Regions from separate parts of the Homo sapiens genome. Here all the other regions are linked to region 1. The links are contacts of gene promoters, found by promoter capture Hi-C in human tissues and cell types (Jung and others, 2019). All regions are on one chromosome and are shown on one strand. The core of a region is centred on a gene start or on the middle of the fragment in contact, and the rest is flanking DNA. Distances in the headings are between cores, read along the strand shown. Region 1 holds the start of CSPG4 (chondroitin sulfate proteoglycan 4). Region 2 overlaps PTPN9 (protein tyrosine phosphatase non-receptor type 9). Region 3 overlaps FBXO22 (F-box protein 22). Region 4 overlaps FBXO22 (F-box protein 22). Region 5 overlaps UBE2Q2 (ubiquitin conjugating enzyme E2 Q2). Region 6 overlaps PTPN9 (protein tyrosine phosphatase non-receptor type 9). Region 7 holds the start of PTPN9 (protein tyrosine phosphatase non-receptor type 9).

Region 1 (2,601 bases), core at 56-2,555:
ACCCAGGTCTCTCTGGTTTCAAGACCAATACTCATAACCCCCACATGGACCAGGCACCATCACACCTGAGCACTGCACTTAGGGTCAAAGACCTGGCCCCACATCTCAGCAGCTATGTAGACTAGCTCCAGTCCCTTAATCTCTCTCAGCCTCAGTTTCTTCATCTGCAAAACAGGTCTCAGTTTCGTTGCAAAGTATGAAGTGCTGGGCTGTTACTGGTCAAAGGGAAGAGCTGGGAAGAGGGTGCAAGGTGGGGTTGGGCTGGAGATGGGCTGGAGCAGATAGATGGAGGGACCTGAATGGAGGAAGTAAACCAAGGCCCGGTAACATTGGGACTGGACAGAGAACACGCAGATCCTCTAGGCACCGGAAGCTAAGTAACATTGCCCTTTCTCCTCCTGTTTGGGACTAGGCTGATGTTGCTGCCTGGAAGGGAGCCAGCAGAAGGGCCCCAGCCTGAAGCTGTTAGGTAGAAGCCAAATCCAGGGCCAGATTTCCAGGAGGCAGCCTCGGGAAGTTGAAACACCCGGATTCAGGGGTCAGGAGGCCTGGGCTTCTGGCACCAAACGGCCAGGGACCTACTTTCCACCTGGAGTCTTGTAAGAGCCACTTTCAGCTTGAGCTGCACTTTCGTCCTCCATGAAATGGGGGAGGGGATGCTCCTCACCCACCTTGCAAGGTTATTTTGAGGCAAATGTCATGGCGGGACTGAGAATTCTTCTGCCCTGCGAGGAAATCCAGACATCTCTCCCTTACAGACAGGGAGACTGAGGTGAGGCCCTTCCAGGCAGAGAAGGTCACTGTTGCAGCCATGGGCAGTGCCCCACAGGACCTCGGGTGGTGCCTCTGGAGTCTGGAGAAGTTCCTAGGGGACCTCCGAGGCAAAGCAGCCCAAAAGCCGCCTGTGAGGGTGGCTGGTGTCTGTCCTTCCTCCTAAGGCTGGAGTGTGCCTGTGGAGGGGTCTCCTGAACTCCCGCAAAGGCAGAAAGGAGGGAAGTAGGGGCTGGGACAGTTCATGCCTCCTCCCTGAGGGGGTCTCCCGGGCTCGGCTCTTGGGGCCAGAGTTCAGGGTGTCTGGGCCTCTCTATGACTTTGTTCTAAGTCTTTAGGGTGGGGCTGGGGTCTGGCCCAGCTGCAAGGGCCCCCTCACCCCTGCCCCAGAGAGGAACAGCCCCGCACGGGCCCTTTAAGAAGGTTGAGGGTGGGGGCAGGTGGGGGAGTCCAAGCCTGAAACCCGAGCGGGCGCGCGGGTCTGCGCCTGCCCCGCCCCCGGAGTTAAGTGCGCGGACACCCGGAGCCGGCCCGCGCCCAGGAGCAGAGCCGCGCTCGCTCCACTCAGCTCCCAGCTCCCAGGACTCCGCTGGCTCCTCGCAAGTCCTGCCGCCCAGCCCGCCGGGATGCAGTCCGGGCCGCGGCCCCCACTTCCAGCCCCCGGCCTGGCCTTGGCTTTGACCCTGACTATGTTGGCCAGACTTGCATCCGCGGGTGAGTGAGGGGCCTGAGACCCCGACCCAGCCTGGCGGAACTAGAGGGGTTCCTCCGGGAGGGAAAAGGGACAGGAGGAGCCAGAAGTGGCCCCCAGATCGGGAGTCAAGCAGGCTGCGCTTCTCCCACCACTAGCTGGGGTCGCCAGGGGTTCAATCCTGGGGCGGACACGGGACCCCGCTATCTCAGGTTATGGGGTTTCTAGCTAGCCAAGGCTGTCCAGTTAGGGGCGGGAGCAGGCGCCCCAGGCATGGATTGCCTAGGGCGTGGCTTTGCCCGTTTGGATTGTCTGAGACACCAGTGGGGCCACCCCAATGCTGGCCGAGCTTTGTTTGCCAGGCAAGTTTGGGGTGAGTATGTTGGGGTCCAAAGGGACCCGGCGACAGTGAGAAGTGGGTCCTCCAGCTTCAGATGCCCTGGGCCAGGAATGGGGAGTGCTACAAGGTGGGAAACGAGGAATGAGCCACCCTGCCCTCCCCTGTGAGGAGCACCCCCACACCCCTCCAGCTGCCCCCCAGCTCTGCCCCTTCTTTCCTCCCCTTGCTTCCTTGCAGATCCGTCTATCTGCCACCTCCCCTCTTCATTCTCTCCTCTCCCTCCTCCTGTTGGTGACAGGCAGGACCCCCCACCCACTACCCACTCTCAGCCTCCTAGAGGGAGAGCTGGTGCCCCTCAGCGGGGCTTGTCCTACAGATAGCTCTGGACCACCCCCTGCCACACCTCCTCATCCCAGCACTGATGCCTGACCCAGCAGAGGCTGAATGGAAGTTCGCTTTCCGAGAAGTGCTGGGATATATCCCCTCTCTGTCCCGATGCCAGAAACCCCAACATGACAGCATTCTTCCTTCAGCGAAGGCAGCTCTAGTTATGCCATAAGAACTGTGGCCTTAGGGCCCATCCATCATCACTACCCACGTGTGATTCAGTGCTTCAGCTACACCTTCGAGATCATTCCCAAGAGCAACATGGAGCAAAGGCAGGGCCTGAGCCTCCTTCACAAGGGCCCAGGCCACACCCTTCTCTCCTTCAGATGGAGAAGCCAGCTCTAAAAGAGGGCATCACATGGTTCCCAGAAGGGAAGTGAGTCAAGGGAGGACCCCCGCGGGGTGAATCAGG
Region 2 (2,601 bases), core at 48-2,547, 250 kb after region 1:
GATCCCAGACCATCTGACTCCAAAGTATCTTCTTTCACCTCTTACACTAGACTTCCTCTAAGGATCCATCTTCTGATCTGCCAATAAATTTTTATCGAGTTTCTTACCATAATCAGGAGCTCAAGTGTAGAGCAGAAGATTAATCTAGTTCCTTCTCCAGATGAGCCTCCATTCTCTTGGGAGTGCACAAACATAAGAAGTGAACAGAGATTCTTGGAAATCTGAGAAACCAGAGAGGTCAGGGGTTTGGTGGAACATGTAAGAAATGGGATTAATGATAAACGGCCTGGAGGAGGTAACTTTAAATTGTCATTTATTTGAAGAGGCTGTAACCCGACTGCCCTGTGAATTTAAGGTTATGCATGAGTTCCTCATTGCATATCTGAAGACTGGTGAGGTTATCTATCACTTCAGCTCCATAAAATGCTGATTTCTGGGCCCATCCAGTAGGTTGTTAGTGAGTGACAGGATTATCCAGGTTTGGGAACCATAGATTTAGTTCATGTTTCTGACCCTATAGAGAGTTAACAAATTGATGTCTCCTAAATTTTCAGTAAAACTCAGAGGAACTCCTCCCACTGCCATTGTTTGTAGCTTTTACCAGCGTGAACCTACCTGTGTTAGGTGTTAAAGGAGGAGGTAAAGGAAAGGGAAGGCAGAGACGCAACCCAGAATCTGTTTGGCAAGTCAGGGTTCTCATACAGGAGACTTAGTGAACAAAGCAAGAGAAAATGCTCAGGGTCCAAGTGCAGTGGCTTTATGCCTGTAATCCCAGTACTTTGGAAGGCCGAGGTGGGCAGATCACCTGAGGTCAGGAGTTTGAGACCAGCCTGACCAATATGATGAAACCCCATCTCTACTAAAAATATAAAAATTACCCGGGTGTGGTGGTATGTGCTTGTAATCCCAGCTACTCGGGAGGCTGAAATGGGAGAATCACTTGAATCTGGGAGGCAGAGGTTGCAATGAGCCGAGATCGCGCCATTGCACTCTAGCCTGGGCAACAAGAGTAAAACTCCATCTCAAAAAAAATAAATAAATAAAAAAGAAAGACAGTGTTCAGGAAAGAAGAAAACACTGAGCTAAAGCAGGCTTCTGCTTCTGATTTGATGGCTGTTTGTTTCACCTTTCTCTAACATTCCCATGCTATATAATTTTTCAAACATGAGATAATCCCTGTGTCCTTTTTCCCATTGCTCCCTTCATCTTGCCCATCCTCATTGGCTAGGATGGGACTCCTGAGACGAAGGGTGCCCCAGCATCCTCAGCCTCGGAGGCCCACCCTTATCAGTCTTCATGTGACAGTATGCAGGTAAATGACAGAGTAGGACTTGTTCTTGGGAGAATGGACTATTTAGCATCATAGCCCTAGGGAAATTTGGTTCCTTCCCTGAAAGGAATGCTTCCTGTCTCTTGGGACAGACAGACACACATACAAAAACTTTTATAAATCAGAGACCTAGAGGGAATTGGGCCAAGAGGCATTGGCCAAGTAGAAAAGCTTCTCTAGAGTGACCCAGCTCTTTTGTGGTTTTGAGGTCTTACCACTGAACCAAACCCAAGTCCTAGGTTCCCTCTGTAAAAGAAGGGGCTACACTAGATGATCCTACCATGGGTCCTCTGACTGTCAGGGTCCAGTTCTTTGTTAGACAGTGCAAACACCCATAGAGGAGCTATTAGGCCTTTACTTGGGTTGAGTTGGCTCCCACTAGCACTCCCCACTTTTCATTTTTTTTACTTTCAGAGACAGAGTCTCACTCTGTTGCCTAGGTTAGAGGGGAGTGGCATGATCATGGCTCACTGCAGTCTCAACAACTGGGCTCAAGCAGGAACCCAGCTTTTTTTTTTTTTCTCTCTCTCTCTCTAGAGACAGGATCTCACTATGTTGCCCAGGCTGGTCTCGAACTCCAGCCTCAAGCAATCCTCCTGCCTCGGCCTCCCAAAGTGAGAGGATTACAGGCATGGGCCACCACACCCAGCCTCTCCAGTTTTAGTGTGTTTTCAGAGTCTCTTCTTTCAAGCTGCTGCTACTTCCCTAGCTTCCCTCAGTTCTCTTCCCCCTTGGCCTTCCAATTGGAGGAAAAGCAGGTCAGGTCTCTGTCATCTCCAAGACCAGCCTATAGGCCTTTAAAGTTTCCCTGTTTCTTAATGTGGGGTCTACAGGGTTTCTCAGAGGCAAAGCATGAACAGACCAAGGGTCCTATAGCTCCCAACCTAGTCCTTAGATTTCTCTCTGGCCTTGGTTACTCCCACAAACCACTGTGAGCCTACCAAGGGCAGGAATGGAAATGCCCATCAGCCTGGGAACCATCTTTTTCTCTTAGGAGGTATCCGCCCTATAGTTACCTTTACACAACACTTGTGAATATCAAGTGTTCTAGACTGCACTGTTCATAATTGACTACAGAGAAGACTAGGATCTTCTCCACAAATAGAAATATATCACTTTTACTTGGAGATGTTTTCTTGGGGGAAAAAAAATCTAGCACCTTGAAACCTGTTACAATGTTTAAATCTCCCTTCTTTACCTTGGCTGTCATAAAATCCTCCTGTTTGAGCTAAATGTGGCCTGCTGAAGTCTTAAATGCCCATATTTTTCAG
Region 3 (2,601 bases), core at 102-2,601, 220 kb before region 1:
AATGTTATAATTTTATTAATATACACAAAGATATCCACTAAACGAAGCCTTCTGCTATTGTTTACATTAACATCTCTTCCCCCCGACTTCAGCTGTCAAATTCTGAAAGATGTATATTAAAAATATAATAATGGAGGGTGATTTTATTTTTTTAGAGATAGGGTTCTCTGTTAGCTAGGCTGAAGTGCAGTGGCACAATCATAGCTCACTGCAGCCTCAAACTCGTGGGATAAAGCAATCCTCCTGCCTGAGTCTCTCAAGGAGCTGGGGCTACAGATACATGCCACCACACCTGGCTAATCTGTAAACATTTTGTAGAGATAGGGTCTCACTATGTTGCTCAGACTGGTCTCAAACTCCTGGGCTCAAGCAATCCTCCTGCCTCAGCCTCCCAAAGTTCTGGGATTACAGGCATGAGCCACTGCACTCAGAGGATAATTTTAAAAACCTATTAACTCTAGAAGTTTTAGCTTTATGTCTAGTCCACTAGAAAATATGATTATGTTATTTTTTTGTCTTGTTTATTGCTTTGAGTCTAGAGTTCAGCTTAATTTGATGGTAAAAACTCATGCTTTGTTTTTGTTTATATTTGCCTGGTTTTTTTAAAAAATGAAATATCCTTACAAAAGAAAATACAACATTGATAAAAGTAATAAAGCATAATATAGTGAACATCCACTAGGGGATAAACAAGTATTGTATCATGCTTCCAACATCTGAATCTATAAAATGGGCAAGAGTCACTGGATTAGTGAGAAACTAAGACGCAAAAAGGTTAAGTGACTAAAGTAATAAGGCTAGCTAGTAGTAAAACAAGTTTGTGAGGGGCAAAATCCGTCTTCTGAAGTCCTCTGCTGCTCTTAAAACTTTATCACATTTCCTCTTTGGTACAGAATTGTTAATATACATTGTCAATCTTGCCTCAAAGAATTATACATCTTCCTTTTGGGGCACTGGGTCAGTTGGGTTATCTGGACTTTATTAAAATGGAGCCCTCATTTACTCAATGGTTTCTCTTAACCACTGACAGAGTATGAAGACCACATTAAAATTAATGGGTCATGTGAAGAGTAATGATTGGGGTGGGGGGTGTTTCTCTTATTAGGTATAAAAAGTAGATGATATACAAATAGCTACACTTACAAGCTAGCACCTCAGATGTTATAAGTCTGAGTGAGGTATCTGCATTTCAAAGGTAAACTGTATGTTGAATCACCATTGCCCTATCCGTACACAATTTAAGTTAATAGCAAAGACACAGGAAAAATTAGGCAAGAGGGGAAATAACTTAGATAGCCACCAAGAATTCAGTGTATGTATGCACAAAATCCAGTGTTTGATATCCTGCCTGGGATTCAACGTACTTGGCCTTCCTCTCTTCCTCCTCCCTGGCAGTCCAGGGACCTCAACTTTAGCTATTTTCCCAGATCTAGCTCATAGAGATAACCAGAAGAGAGACTATAACTAGGATGACTTACATTATTCTTATAGATACTGATCTGCAACAGTCTGTCCCCATGTCACCACTCTAGGATGCAAATATTAAACAGAGTGGGAAACAAATAGTAGTGTTTACAAGCATTGAGGGTGGGGTAGGGTCTGATTTTCCTGCTGGAAACAAATGATATTTATGTCCACCTAATTGTTTCAAACTCAAAATGATATGTATTTTCATTCAAGATGGAAAGGAAGTAATGGCTCCCAAGACAGAAGAGCAAATATTTTTATCTTTGAAAGCAAAAGCCTTAGTAACAAAAAAGATCCACAATTTTTAAGCTTGAAAAAGCCTTTCAAAAGATCTAATACAGAATTTCCAAAAACCAGTACGACTTGCAAGACATTCTGTGGAAAAAAGTTTTGTGACCAAACACATTTGGGAACTGTCACAGGTAATGCTATTCTCCTTCCAGATTTCCACAGCACTGGGCATATTAGAAGCTCTGAGAAGTTTTGCCATAAAGATACACTCTAACCATGTGTTTCCTTTAAAGGAGGAAACTAGAAAGGAGGTGACACATTGAGGTCACACAGAGTACCACATCTGTCAAAGGAAAGATCAACAGGCAATGTCAAATTTTAAGGAGAATGTGACTCAAGGAAGTTCTTGAAGGACAATATATATAAAAATGTAATTATTCAACCGTAAGCAGAATTATGTTCAGTAAGCCCCTTAGCCAATGTCTACTACAAAATGGAATGAACTATTATCTTAATAATTCTTTAAACACGTTTTTTAAATTGTTAACCCCAAAGTGACAAAACCTGAGACCATTTCCCTTCATTCACAGACGAAATCAGAAGCACACAAGACATACTTTTCAGAAGTCAGTGATGACAGGTTGTCCACCTGGCCTCCAGCCAAGATGATATTCATATCACTGAAAGTGCTGACTACTTGCTGCAGATAATTACTGGCTCCCACCTTACAGCAATTATAACCAAAGACAAGGACCACACGAAGTTCAGGGTTATCTAAAAGACCTGCAGAGAAATGAAGAGCAACAGTTAAAGACAGCCTTAAAACAGAAATTATTTTATACATGCTGCAAAATGAAATGTTACTGACTTGCACTCCACCTTAAGGGCAATTTAGTGGCTTAA
Region 4 (2,601 bases), core at 49-2,548, 200 kb before region 1:
AACCTCTGCCTCCCGGGCTCAAGCAATTCTCCTGCCTTAGCCTCCTGAGCAGCTGGGATTACAGGTGCCCGCCATCATGCCTGGCTAATTTTTGTATTTTTAGTAGAGATGGGGTTTCACCACGTCGGCCAGGCTGCTCTTGAACTCCTGACCTCATGATCCACCCACCTCGGCCTCCCAAAGTGCTGGGACCACAGACGTGAGCCACTGCGCCTGGCCAATTTTTACATTTTTTAGTAGAGATGGGGTTTTGCCATGTTGGCCAGGCTGGTCTCCAACTCCTGACTTCAAGTGATCCGCCTGCCTCGGCCTCCTAAAGTGCTGGGATTACAGGTGTCAGCCACCACGCCAGGCCAAAAAGAAATAAACTCTTTTTTTTAAAAAAATGTTAAGCCCTTTAGAAACCACAGCTAGAGCAACTGAACAAATAATATTCATTTGTAAACATGTAAAATTCTTTTTACCTCACTGTATAAGACTCAAATTCAGATCAAAAATCTTTCAGTGAAGATTAAAAATGACAATTCTCAGTAGAGTACTACTGAGTTGGAACAAAAAAACATAACAGCAGCCAGGTGCAGTGGCTCATGCCTGTAATCCCAGCACTTTGGGAGGCTGAGGCGGTGGATCACCTGAGGTCAGGAATTTGAGACCAGCCTGGCCAACATGGTGAAACCCGGTTTCTACTAAAAATACAAAAATTAGCCAGGTGTGGTGGTGGCGGGCGCCTGTGATCCCAGCTACTTGGGAGGCTGAGGCAGGAGAATTGCTTGAATCCAGGAGGCAGAAGTCGCAGTGAGTAGAGATCACGCCATTGCACTCCAACCTTGGTGACAAGAGTGAAACTCCATCTCAAAAACAATACATAAATGACAGCTAACATTTACTTACTGCTTTGTGTATCTCTATTGTAAATGCTTTACAAGTGTTAACTCATTTAATTCTCACAACCCTCCAAGGAAGGTACTACTGTCATCATCCCCACTTCCTTGATGAGGACAGTGAAGCCCCATGAAGTTAGGTAACTTGCTCAAAGTCATACAGATACTAAGCGGTACAGCCGGCATTCGAATCCAGGTATCTAACCATTGCACCATTACTGCCTCAACAGAATCTCTCCTCCCCCAGTTAACTACAGAAAAGAATCAAAAATAATAAAAACCAGCAAAAATTCACCAGCAGCAATCAAGCATGGAAAGGGGCACAACCTCATGCTGTAAACATTGAAGAGTGGTACCAAAGCAGAGAAACAGAAGTCTCCTAGTAAGGCCCAGCTTTGCTCCTAATCCCAGCCCCATCTCACCCCTACCCACCAAACACAATACTGCTTGAACTGACAAAACTCTGAAAATGCCCACAAATACTTCCTAATTTGGAGGAAGGCAGAATGAGATCATTCCCCTCTTATGAATGACTACTGGATATTTATACAGGTAACCTTGAGATGAGAAGTACAATAACTTAATAAACATTAATATAAGGCAAATATAATGCCATGGTAAATATGACTGACTTTATTGTATTTTAGATGGACAGAAATAGAAATGTGGTTCTAAGCTAAAAATAACTCACCAATCCAAAGGACCCCACATTAATGCAAGGAAGAAATCATCAAGTTGCTAATTTATCTCACCTACAATTCCTGGGGTCACAATCCCAAGGACTTGGCATTGTTTGGGGAATAGCTTCTCAAGGGCAAGTGCTGTTTCCATACTAGTTCTTTTCCTTGCTGTAAAAATACAGTAGCAAAATGATAAATATCATCCATTTAAAGTCAAATCTGAGAATGAAAAAGTAAAAAAGCAAATACTGGAAATATTTAAGTCATTTAACACGAGAATGCTCTAAATAAAGGTCTAAAAGCATTGATTAAAACAAACACTTTACCTGTTTTGGTCCTGGCTTTTAAATTATAAATCTGATCTTTTGCACCACTAGTCTGCCTTTCCCCTCTGTTCATATATTGCTTTTGCCCCAGTGATGTCAAATTTAGCAGTAACAGCTGAATTTTAGACTTGCTATTGTACCTTTCTGTTCAGCTGATATTGCAGTATAACTACTATTTGCATCAACAGTCACCTGGATCAAATTAGACAATGAGAATCCATTATCTAAGTCTAACTTGGGACCTGAGTGTGCGCATCTTGGATACCCATTCTGCCTTTTCCCTCAGCAAGCCAAAAATGCACCATTTCTCTACATAACTTTAGTAAATGGGACCTCATGTTCCAATACAGTAAAAGGCCTGAATAGCCAAGTCATACAACCTGTTTTAATAATAAAAAGTGCCTGGAGAATTAAAGCATCTCAAATTGAGAACAACACCTTTCTAACGAATTTGTTTCAATTGCACTACAAGGTTTAGAAATCAATCTGAAGCAGAAAGGGTTCCTCAAGGTTCAAAGATAGATATATTGATGCATACTACAGGTGGCAGTCCCAGAGCCTCAGAAAGTCAGTTAACTCTCAGGACAAGTATAATATTGAACTCCGAACGGAAGGCACATGATAAAAAAACAGAAGCAAAAGCTTTTCTTTTGATATTTACCTCTCTTATGGCCACGACACTCTTCCAGACTAATGAAAGTTTCTGAATCAGCC
Region 5 (2,601 bases), core at 60-2,559, 180 kb before region 1:
GTCACAAACTGACACATTTCTAGCAAAGTAAAGAATACTTTACAGGCATGGTGGCTTGTGCCTACAGTCCAAGCTACTGAGGAGACTGAGGCAGGAGGATCACATCAGCCCAGGAACTTGAGGCTGCAGTCCACTATGATCACGCCTGTAAACAACCACTGCACTCCAGTTATAACAACAAGAACTCCATCTGTAAGGAGTTGCCTTTAACTCAGTTCCTAATATTTCAAGTAAGTAAAGTGAGTCATTCATTAATCTACTAAAAAAAAAAAAAAAGAAATCTTGATTCTGACTCTGAGATACCTAGGCCAAGTGTATAGGATACAAAAATTTTGACTGAAGTACAATGTTAAGGTTTTGTGGTGCAGTGGCTTACACCTGTAATCCCAGTACTTTGGGAGGCCGAGGCGGGCGGATCACAAAGTCAGGAGATCGAGACCATCCTGGCTAACACAGGGAAACCCGGTCTCTACTAAAAATACAAAAAAGGCACCTGTAGTCCCAGCTACTCGGGAGGCTGAGGCAGGAGAATGGCATGAACCTGGGAGGCGGAGCTGGCAGTGAGCTGAGATAGTGCCACTGCACTCCAGCTGGGGTGACAGAGCGAGACTCCGTCTCAAAAAACAAATAAAATAAAATAAAATAAAATAAATAAATAAATAAATAAAGATTTTGTATGCAGCACAAGTTTCTTTCACCATGGTAACAGCATTTTAAGAAACTAAAGCAAAAACAGAAAAATAAAATGGTAAGTATTAATACATTATCTAAAACTTCTTAAATGGCAATAAACACTTATTGAATTAAACATACCATTTTTCTCATGTATCTGTACAATGGAATTATAGGATTGTTGGGCTCTTGCTAGATTATATTGATTCTGAAAGAGAATTACACATTTTAAATCAAAAGTGTAATTAGGTGAAAATTATTACAATAAATTTATGAATGCATCACACTGTGCTTAAAAGAACATGGGAAACTGACTATCTCCATTTCAAAAACAATTTTAACTTAATAGCCTCATTTCTCAGTTTCATTATTCTCTACAATTTTATAAAAATAACAAAACCAAAATTGTACCCCAATAAAACTCAACAAGCCTCACAGTTCATTTTTATAAGTCTTCCTACCATTGGACAAGTACAAAGCTTTCTGGTTCTAGAGTCCGTCTCCATATTGCTGAATCAAGTTAAAGGATTATATCTGGATGTTAATAAAACTCAAACTGTCTTCACACAATTTCTATTTTTAAAAAAACTACAAAATATTACTTTCAGATAAGAAAATATTAAGCTTCCACAACTATACATATGAATGACATTTTAAGTTAGAAATCTAAAGAATGCCCATAATTGTCACCATGCTTACTAAAGGAGCCCTCTTTTGATAAAAATATACAATCTTTTTAAGGAGCCAAATCTAGGATTAATTTTGTCACCATAAGTACAACCAACCTATATCTTCGCTTCGAATTAATATACCAGGAGCACTCTCCATAGTGGTACCCATCTATCCACTATATTATGTGGCAGAAATTTTTGCATAATAAATTCACACAGCACAAGACTCAAAAATGTCTACATCCTAAGTGAAAACTCTCCCTCCTACTTGGTGCCCTGAACACCCAGTTTCCTCCCGTTCATCCCCCTTCCTCCACACAAGTTAACCACTATTACTAATTTCTTGTATGTCCCTCTTTAAGATTATTCATGTACAGCCCACTGTTATTAGCCACTGTCCCTGGCTTTCCTTCACTAACAGTTGCATGCTACAGACACTGGTCTGCCCCTTTTCTTGTCTAGCATATCTTGGAGAATGTTCCTTATCAGTATAGAACATACCTGTTTTAAACACTGAAATATTTCTATTATATGGATATTCAAATATTTAATCAGTCCCCTATTGGTGGACATCAGGGTTTCTCAATATTTTGCTGTTATAATGTTGCCAAGAGCAACCTTGTACGTATATCTGCTGAGTACTGGTAAAAATGTCCTAGAGTAGAGCTGCTGTGTCAAAAGATATATATGTGTAATTCTGAGATATTGCTAAATTGCCCTCTACATAACTGCACAAATGTGTCTGCCCACCAGCCATCTGTAAGAGTGCCTCGATGCAGCCTCACCAATGCAGTACTTCAAACATTTGTAGATTTCTGACAATATACTAGATGGACTCCCAGTATAGTTTTGATTTGTATTTCTATTGAGTGAGACTGAGCATGTCTCCATTATGTTCATGAGCCATTTATTTCTATTTCTGTAAACAGACTTTTTATACCCCCTTTTCCTATTTTTTTTTAACATGTTAAATTTATGTAAGGACTTTTCCTATTTTTCTACAGGGTAGTCTTTTTCAACATCTAAGAGCTCTTTAAAATAGTAAAGCCGGCCAGGCACGGTGGCTCACACCTGTAATCCCAGTACTTTTAGAGGCTGAGGCAGGTAGATCACCTGAGGCTGGGAGTTCAAGACCAGCCTGACCAACACGGAGAAACCCCGTCTCTACAAAAATACCAAATTAGCCAGGCGTGGTGGAGCACACCTGTAATCTCAGCTACTTGGGAGGCTGAGGCAGGAGAATCGCTTGAACCCAGGA
Region 6 (2,601 bases), core at 47-2,546, 180 kb after region 1:
ATCTAAATTCCTATAATACTTTTTGCTTACTAATAGTCATATTACTTGTTTCATATACTGTATACTTAGATATACACTGTGTGGTTTCTGAATTTTATTCTCTTCTTTAACATTCCTTTTTTTTTTTGAGACAGGGTCTGGCTGTGTCACCCAGGCTGGGGGGCCATGCAGTGGTACAGTTTCAGCTCACTGCAGCCTCTGCCTCCCGGGCTTAAGTGATCCTCCCACTTGTGGGACTGTAGGCGTGTGCCATCATGCTGGGCGAATTTTTGTATTTTTTGTAGAGACGGGGTTTTGTCATGTTCCTCAGGCTGGTCACGAACTCCTGAGATCAAGCAGTCTGCCCACTTCGGCCTCCCAGAGTGCTGGGATTATAGATTGGAGCCACCACACCTGGCCTAAAATTCCTGTCTTTTTGCATCAGGTTGTTACGCATCTTTTGGCTTCTGTTAGGTATGACCTTCAGTGCAATGTTACATAGTGGTGGTAATAGCAGGTACCTGCTGGCCTTCTCATCTTTAATAGAAAAAAATTACGGGGCCTATGTGTGATGGATTTTACGCAGTGCATTTTCAGCATCTGTTGAGAAGGTTATATACTTTTTTTTCCTTTCCTGTTAACATAAAAATTGCTTTGATAGATCTCCTGATGTTAAACCAAGTCTTTACATTCCTCGGAGAAGCCTGTAATGTGAGAGCTATCTTTACTGTGAAGCTTTGTGTGTGTGTGTGTTTTGTTTTGTTTTGTTTTGTTTCGAGACAAAGTCTTGCTCTCTCTCCCAGGCTGGAGTACAGTGGCACAATCTTGGCTCACTGCAACCTCTGCCTCCTGGGTTCAAGTGATTCTCCTGCCTCAGCCTCCTGAGTAGCTGGGATTACAGGCAGGCACCACCACACACAGCTAATTTTTGTATTTTTAGAAGAGACAGGGTTTCACTATGTTGGCCAGGCTGGTCTTGAACGCCTGACCTCAGGTGATCCGCCTGCCTTGGCCTCCCAAAGTGCTGGGATTACAGGTGTGAGCCACCACGCCTGGCCTTTTTTTTTTTTTTTTTTTTTTTGAGATGGAGTCTCCCTCTGTTGCCCTGCTGGAGTGCAGTGGCACCATCTCGGCTCACTGCAACCTCCGCCTCCTGAGTTCAAGTGATTCTCCTGCCTCAGCCTCCCGAGTAGCTGGGACTACAGGTGCGCACCACCACGCCCAGCTAAGTTTTTTGCATTTTTAATAGAGGTGGGGGTTTCACCGTGTTGGCCAGGATGGTCTTGATCTCTTAACCTCATGGTCCACCCACCTAAGCCTCCCAAAGTGCTGGGATTACAGGCGTGAGCCACCGAGCCTGGCCTTTTTTTTTTTTTTTTTTTTTTTTTTTTAGGGAAGATATTTGACGATTCCTCTTGTTTTTGTTTAGATCACCATTTATTTGATTTTCAGCAATCACTAGTTTTTTTTTTTTTTTTTTTTTGAGACGGAGTCTCACTGTGTCACCCAGGCTGGAGTGCAATGGCATGATCTCGGCTCACTGCAACCTCAGCCTCCTGGATTCAAGCAATTCTCTTGCCTCAGCCTCCTGAGTAGTTGGGATTACAGGCGCCCACCACCATGCCCAGCTAAGTTTTGTATTTTTAGTAGAGACGGAGTTTTGCCATATTGGTCAGGCTGGTCTCGAATTCCTGACCTCAGGTGATCCGCCTGCCTTGGCCTCCCAAAGTGCTGGGATTACAGGTGTGAGCCACCATGCCTGGCCTGCAATCACTAGTATTTCTAAAAGAAAATTGTAAAAGTTCCTTTGTTCTTCATCTTCTGTCTGCCCTCTAAATGTTAATAATATTGAGACTTCAATAATTAATTCATTCATTCATCATAGATATTTATTAAGTAAGTGCTTTGTGCCAGGCACAGTGCTAGGAACTAGGTGAATAAAATAGATATGATCCCTGTCTTCAGGGAACTTACCTCCCTGTTGCTAGATTTTTTTTCCTTTCAGTCTGACTTCCCCACTGCTTATAGTTATTTTTTTGAGGTGGGAGAGGGGAACCAAACTCATCATCTCATCCCTTTGCTTAAAGATCTCTATTGAATCTTTTATGTTTATAGGATCATGTCTGGAATTTGAAGTACAGCATACAAGGGCCTTCCCAGTCTGGTTCAGCCCCCCTGTTCACACATCTCCCACCATTCTCCCTCATACACATTGGACACACTAGCTATATGATATCCCCAATAAGCCCTGTTCTTTCATGACCCTGATTTGAAACATTTTGTTCTCTGACTAGAATACTTTTCTCTGCCTGACAGATTCCTACTCATCCTTCAAGGCACTCCTAAAAAAATTTTTTTTATATCCATAGAGAGAGTTTGAATCCCATAGCATTCTGTTCATAGAACCTTCCTAGAATTTATTACATTATGTGGTAAAGATGTATTTATACATCTGTCTCCATAGTTAAATGATTGTAAACTGCTTGGAATAGGGTCTTTATGTCTCTATGTTGTGTCTTCTCACTTGATCTTAGCGAAAGGCCAAGAAGCGATCTATGTTGTGTCTTCTCAACAACTACTGTACTGATTAGCACAGAATGGGCCCTCAGCAAATATTTGTTG
Region 7 (2,601 bases), core at 41-2,540, 130 kb after region 1:
GGAGCTTGCAGTGAGCCGAGATCGCGCCACTGCACTCCAGCCTGGGTGACAGAGTGAGACTCCGTCTCAAAAAAAGAAAAACAAAAAAGCCAGGCGCGCGGTGGCTCACGCCTGCCTGTAATCCCAGCACTTTGGAAGACCGAGGCGGGCGGATCACAAGGTCAGGAGTTCGAGACCAGCCTGACCAACATGGTGAAACCCCGTCTCTACTAAAAATACAAAAATTAGCCGGGCGTGGTGGCTCGCACCTGTAATCCCAGCTACCCAGGAGGCTGAGGCAGGAGAATCGCTTGACCCCGGGAGGTGGAGGTTGCAGTGAGCCGAGATCGCGCCACTGCACTCCAGCCTGGGCGACACAGAGACTCCGTCTCAAAAAAAAAAATAAAAAAAAAATCATAGGAGCATCACAACTCACAGCACCTTCCTGTTGTCTGAAGGCCCCTCCTTTGGGTCCCTCAGGACTGGCTCCAGGGCTTCAGCCTTGGAACTAGTTGTGGACTTTGGGTCCCTTTGGAATATTTATCTTTGGCTTGGAATAATGCAACAACGTACCAGACCCAGCCTTGCCTTCTCTATGCCCCATTCCTCCCCAAATGACTCCAAGACTGTACCCCTAATCCTGAACCCTTTGCTGCACTTGCCCTAGTGAAAATCAAAGGTCTGCAAAGGCCGCGTCATTCCTGAATGATGTTCGGAGTCTGATGTCGTTTCTATGGGGGATTAAAATTAGCGACACTGGAGATGAATTACAGGGTGCAGCCAGTAAGGAGGGAGAGAGAGGGAGGCAGGTGCGATTCCTTCCACCTAAGCATCCTGGCCTGGCAGGCAACCTTTCCAGGGTCTTTCAGGCTGCAAGCGACAAATAGTTGAGGATTGTGGGTTTCTCACGCGTAGGTGGCAGCGGCAAGTTAACCCCAGGAGAGGTGCCAGTCAGCAGATAATTTGCAAACGAACGTATTCTCCTCCTCCTCCGAGGATCTGAGCCTCACGAAATACTCTTTTCTTCCTTTTTCTCCCTCCCGCAGTCGAGTTGCCTTCCGTCCAGCTAGGGTCCCCTCCCCGCCCGGGTCCCCTCCCCCTCCCGGTCCCCTCCCCCGCCCGGGCTCCTCTCTGTCTCCCCCTCCCGGACTGCGTCCTCGCTCCGCCGGGCCCTCCTCGCCGCCAGCTTGTGAATGAGACGCTCAGTTTCTCAATGGAGCCGCGGGGGGCTCGGGCGGCCGCGGGGCGGCCGCAGCGTTGGCCGTGAGTCAGGAGGGGGGCGCGTTTCCCTCGCTCCCTCTCCACTCCCTCCCTTTCGCTGCGGCCGCCCGCGAGGAGCCTGGCTGAGGCAGCCGCGCAGGTCGCAGGGCCAGCGTCCGCGAGGACGGCCCGGCTGGGCGGCCCCGAGCTCTGTGGCGCTGTGGAGGAGCGGGAGCGCGGCCGAGGAAGCGGGGCGCCGAGGGGGTCGGCGGCCTTCGGGAAATTTCCGCCGACCCTTCGCTCCCGGCTCTAAAAGTTCCTGATTTCCTATTTCCTTTTAAATCCCGAGTGGCTGTTAGCTCTTCGCCTGCACTTTTTCTTCCCCAGGAGATAAGGGGGAGTGTGAGGAACGGAGCGAATAATATAAAAAAGGATTTCCTCCCGGAAGAGAGCGGCAGTTCGGAGAGATTTTTCTTAAGGAAGCAGAAGCGGCGTTTGCGGCCGCTGCAGGCGCCGGGCCCTGCCGGCCACACTATGCGCGAGCCGGCCCCGGGCTGCTGAGGCGCGGGGACGCGGAAGCGGAGGCCGAGCGCGCCGGGCTCCCGCGCTCGCGAGCGAGTTTTGTCCGCCCGGCGGCGGTGGCGGGGGGATGGAGCCCGCGACCGCGCCCCGGCCCGACATGGCGCCGGAGCTGACCCCGGAGGAGGAGCAGGTAAGCGGGCCCGAGGCCGCCGCGTTGGGTGTGTCCGGGCCCCCGAGGCCTACGCCGGCCTCTGCCTCCCGAGTGCCGGCTCTTTGCAGCCACGGGGCCGCAGCCCCCCGCTCCCGTGCCCGGCTCGCGGGCCTCCCTCACCGGCGACCGCGCCCCAGGCCGCCACCCCCTCGTCGGGGGACCCACGGGACCCTACTCCCGTTCCCGCCGCTTCTTTCGCCGAGGCTTACCAGCCTCAGACGGTGCCCTCCGCACCCCACCCCCTATTCCAGGGGCAAAGTTCCTTGGATCCAGGGGCCTTCTTCCCGAGATTTGCAGAACCGCTGCTTGCCCCCGGCCCTTCCACTCCCTTGTAAATGTTTTCCGTGAGGGTTTGTGGCTTTTGAAGGGCAGGAAAAGCCCCAGTTTGGGGGGTGCTTCCTGTGGGGATTATCTCCCTTCCCGAGGAGAGGGCTGAGAGTATTGGATGCATAGATGCCCTAGATTTTCAGAGGAGCCTCTTAGGTTTCTCAGGCCCACTTGGGCAGGTTATGGAAGATCCAGCCCTTCTCGTGTTCCTAAAGTCCCTGGCCTTGACCCCCCTATTCAGCTATCCCAGACGGGGCGCATCTCCTCACCCGCGCTTCCCTACCCTCGTCTCATCTGACTGTCTCCATCTTTCTGAAGCTTACATTGAGCTCTATTGTTCCTTAAAAGCCTATGACCTTTAG

Evidence for each region. Contacts are between HindIII fragments. The study calls those that stand out against the background at their distance.
Region 2: a fragment that was not itself captured here is called in contact with the fragment with the promoter of CSPG4 in region 1 in 2 of the 25 tissues and cell types used here (dorsolateral prefrontal cortex and mesendoderm cells).
Region 3: a fragment that was not itself captured here is called in contact with the fragment with the promoter of CSPG4 in region 1 in 2 of the 25 tissues and cell types used here (heart left ventricle and mesendoderm cells).
Region 4: a fragment that was not itself captured here is called in contact with the fragment with the promoter of CSPG4 in region 1 in 1 of the 25 tissues and cell types used here (mesenchymal stem cells).
Region 5: a contact is called between a fragment that was not itself captured here and the fragment with the promoter of CSPG4 in region 1, in 1 of the 25 tissues and cell types used here (liver).
Region 6: a fragment that was not itself captured here is called in contact with the fragment with the promoter of CSPG4 in region 1 in 1 of the 25 tissues and cell types used here (stomach).
Region 7: a contact is called between the fragment with the promoter of PTPN9 here and the fragment with the promoter of CSPG4 in region 1, in 2 of the 25 tissues and cell types used here (adrenal gland and pancreas).

The regions. Positions count from the first base shown.
Region 1 is chr15:75,711,552-75,714,152 of GRCh38, reverse strand. It overlaps CSPG4 (chondroitin sulfate proteoglycan 4), which reads left to right and starts at 1,305. Exons shown (of 10, transcript NM_001897.5): 1 at 1,305-1,485. The coding sequence starts at 1,398. The HindIII fragment of the contact is 20,321 bases long and covers 1-2,601 here.
Region 2 is chr15:75,463,544-75,466,144 of GRCh38, reverse strand. PTPN9 (protein tyrosine phosphatase non-receptor type 9) reads left to right here. Exons shown (of 13, transcript NM_002833.4): 13 at 1-2,601. Among named protein-coding and RNA genes, the nearest start is that of SIN3A, 13 kb to the right of the region's middle. The HindIII fragment of the contact is 4,221 bases long and covers 1-2,601 here.
Region 3 is chr15:75,929,764-75,932,364 of GRCh38, reverse strand. FBXO22 (F-box protein 22) reads right to left here. Exons shown (of 7, transcript NM_147188.3): 6 at 2,316-2,481. Among named protein-coding and RNA genes, the nearest start is that of FBXO22, 27 kb to the right of the region's middle. The HindIII fragment of the contact is 5,750 bases long and covers 1-2,601 here.
Region 4 is chr15:75,913,238-75,915,838 of GRCh38, reverse strand. It overlaps FBXO22 (F-box protein 22), which reads right to left. Exons shown (of 7, transcript NM_147188.3): 3 at 2,549-2,601; 4 at 1,634-1,729. Among named protein-coding and RNA genes, the nearest start is that of FBXO22, 11 kb to the right of the region's middle. The HindIII fragment of the contact is 3,628 bases long and covers 1-2,601 here.
Region 5 is chr15:75,895,274-75,897,874 of GRCh38, reverse strand. UBE2Q2 (ubiquitin conjugating enzyme E2 Q2) reads right to left here. Exons shown (of 13, transcript NM_173469.4): 12 at 814-880. It also overlaps the pseudogene RN7SL510P. Among named protein-coding and RNA genes, the nearest start is that of FBXO22, 7.3 kb to the left of the region's middle. The HindIII fragment of the contact is 4,691 bases long and covers 1-2,601 here.
Region 6 is chr15:75,536,213-75,538,813 of GRCh38, reverse strand. The region is part of intron 1 of PTPN9 (protein tyrosine phosphatase non-receptor type 9); the gene reads left to right. Among named protein-coding and RNA genes, the nearest start is that of PTPN9, 42 kb to the left of the region's middle. The HindIII fragment of the contact is 5,613 bases long and covers 1-2,601 here.
Region 7 is chr15:75,578,004-75,580,604 of GRCh38, reverse strand. It overlaps PTPN9 (protein tyrosine phosphatase non-receptor type 9), which reads left to right and starts at 1,290. Exons shown (of 13, transcript NM_002833.4): 1 at 1,290-1,891. The coding sequence starts at 1,829. RefSeq lists silencers at 933-1,422, 1,683-2,082 and an enhancer at 1,125-1,723. The HindIII fragment of the contact is 16,601 bases long and covers 1-2,601 here.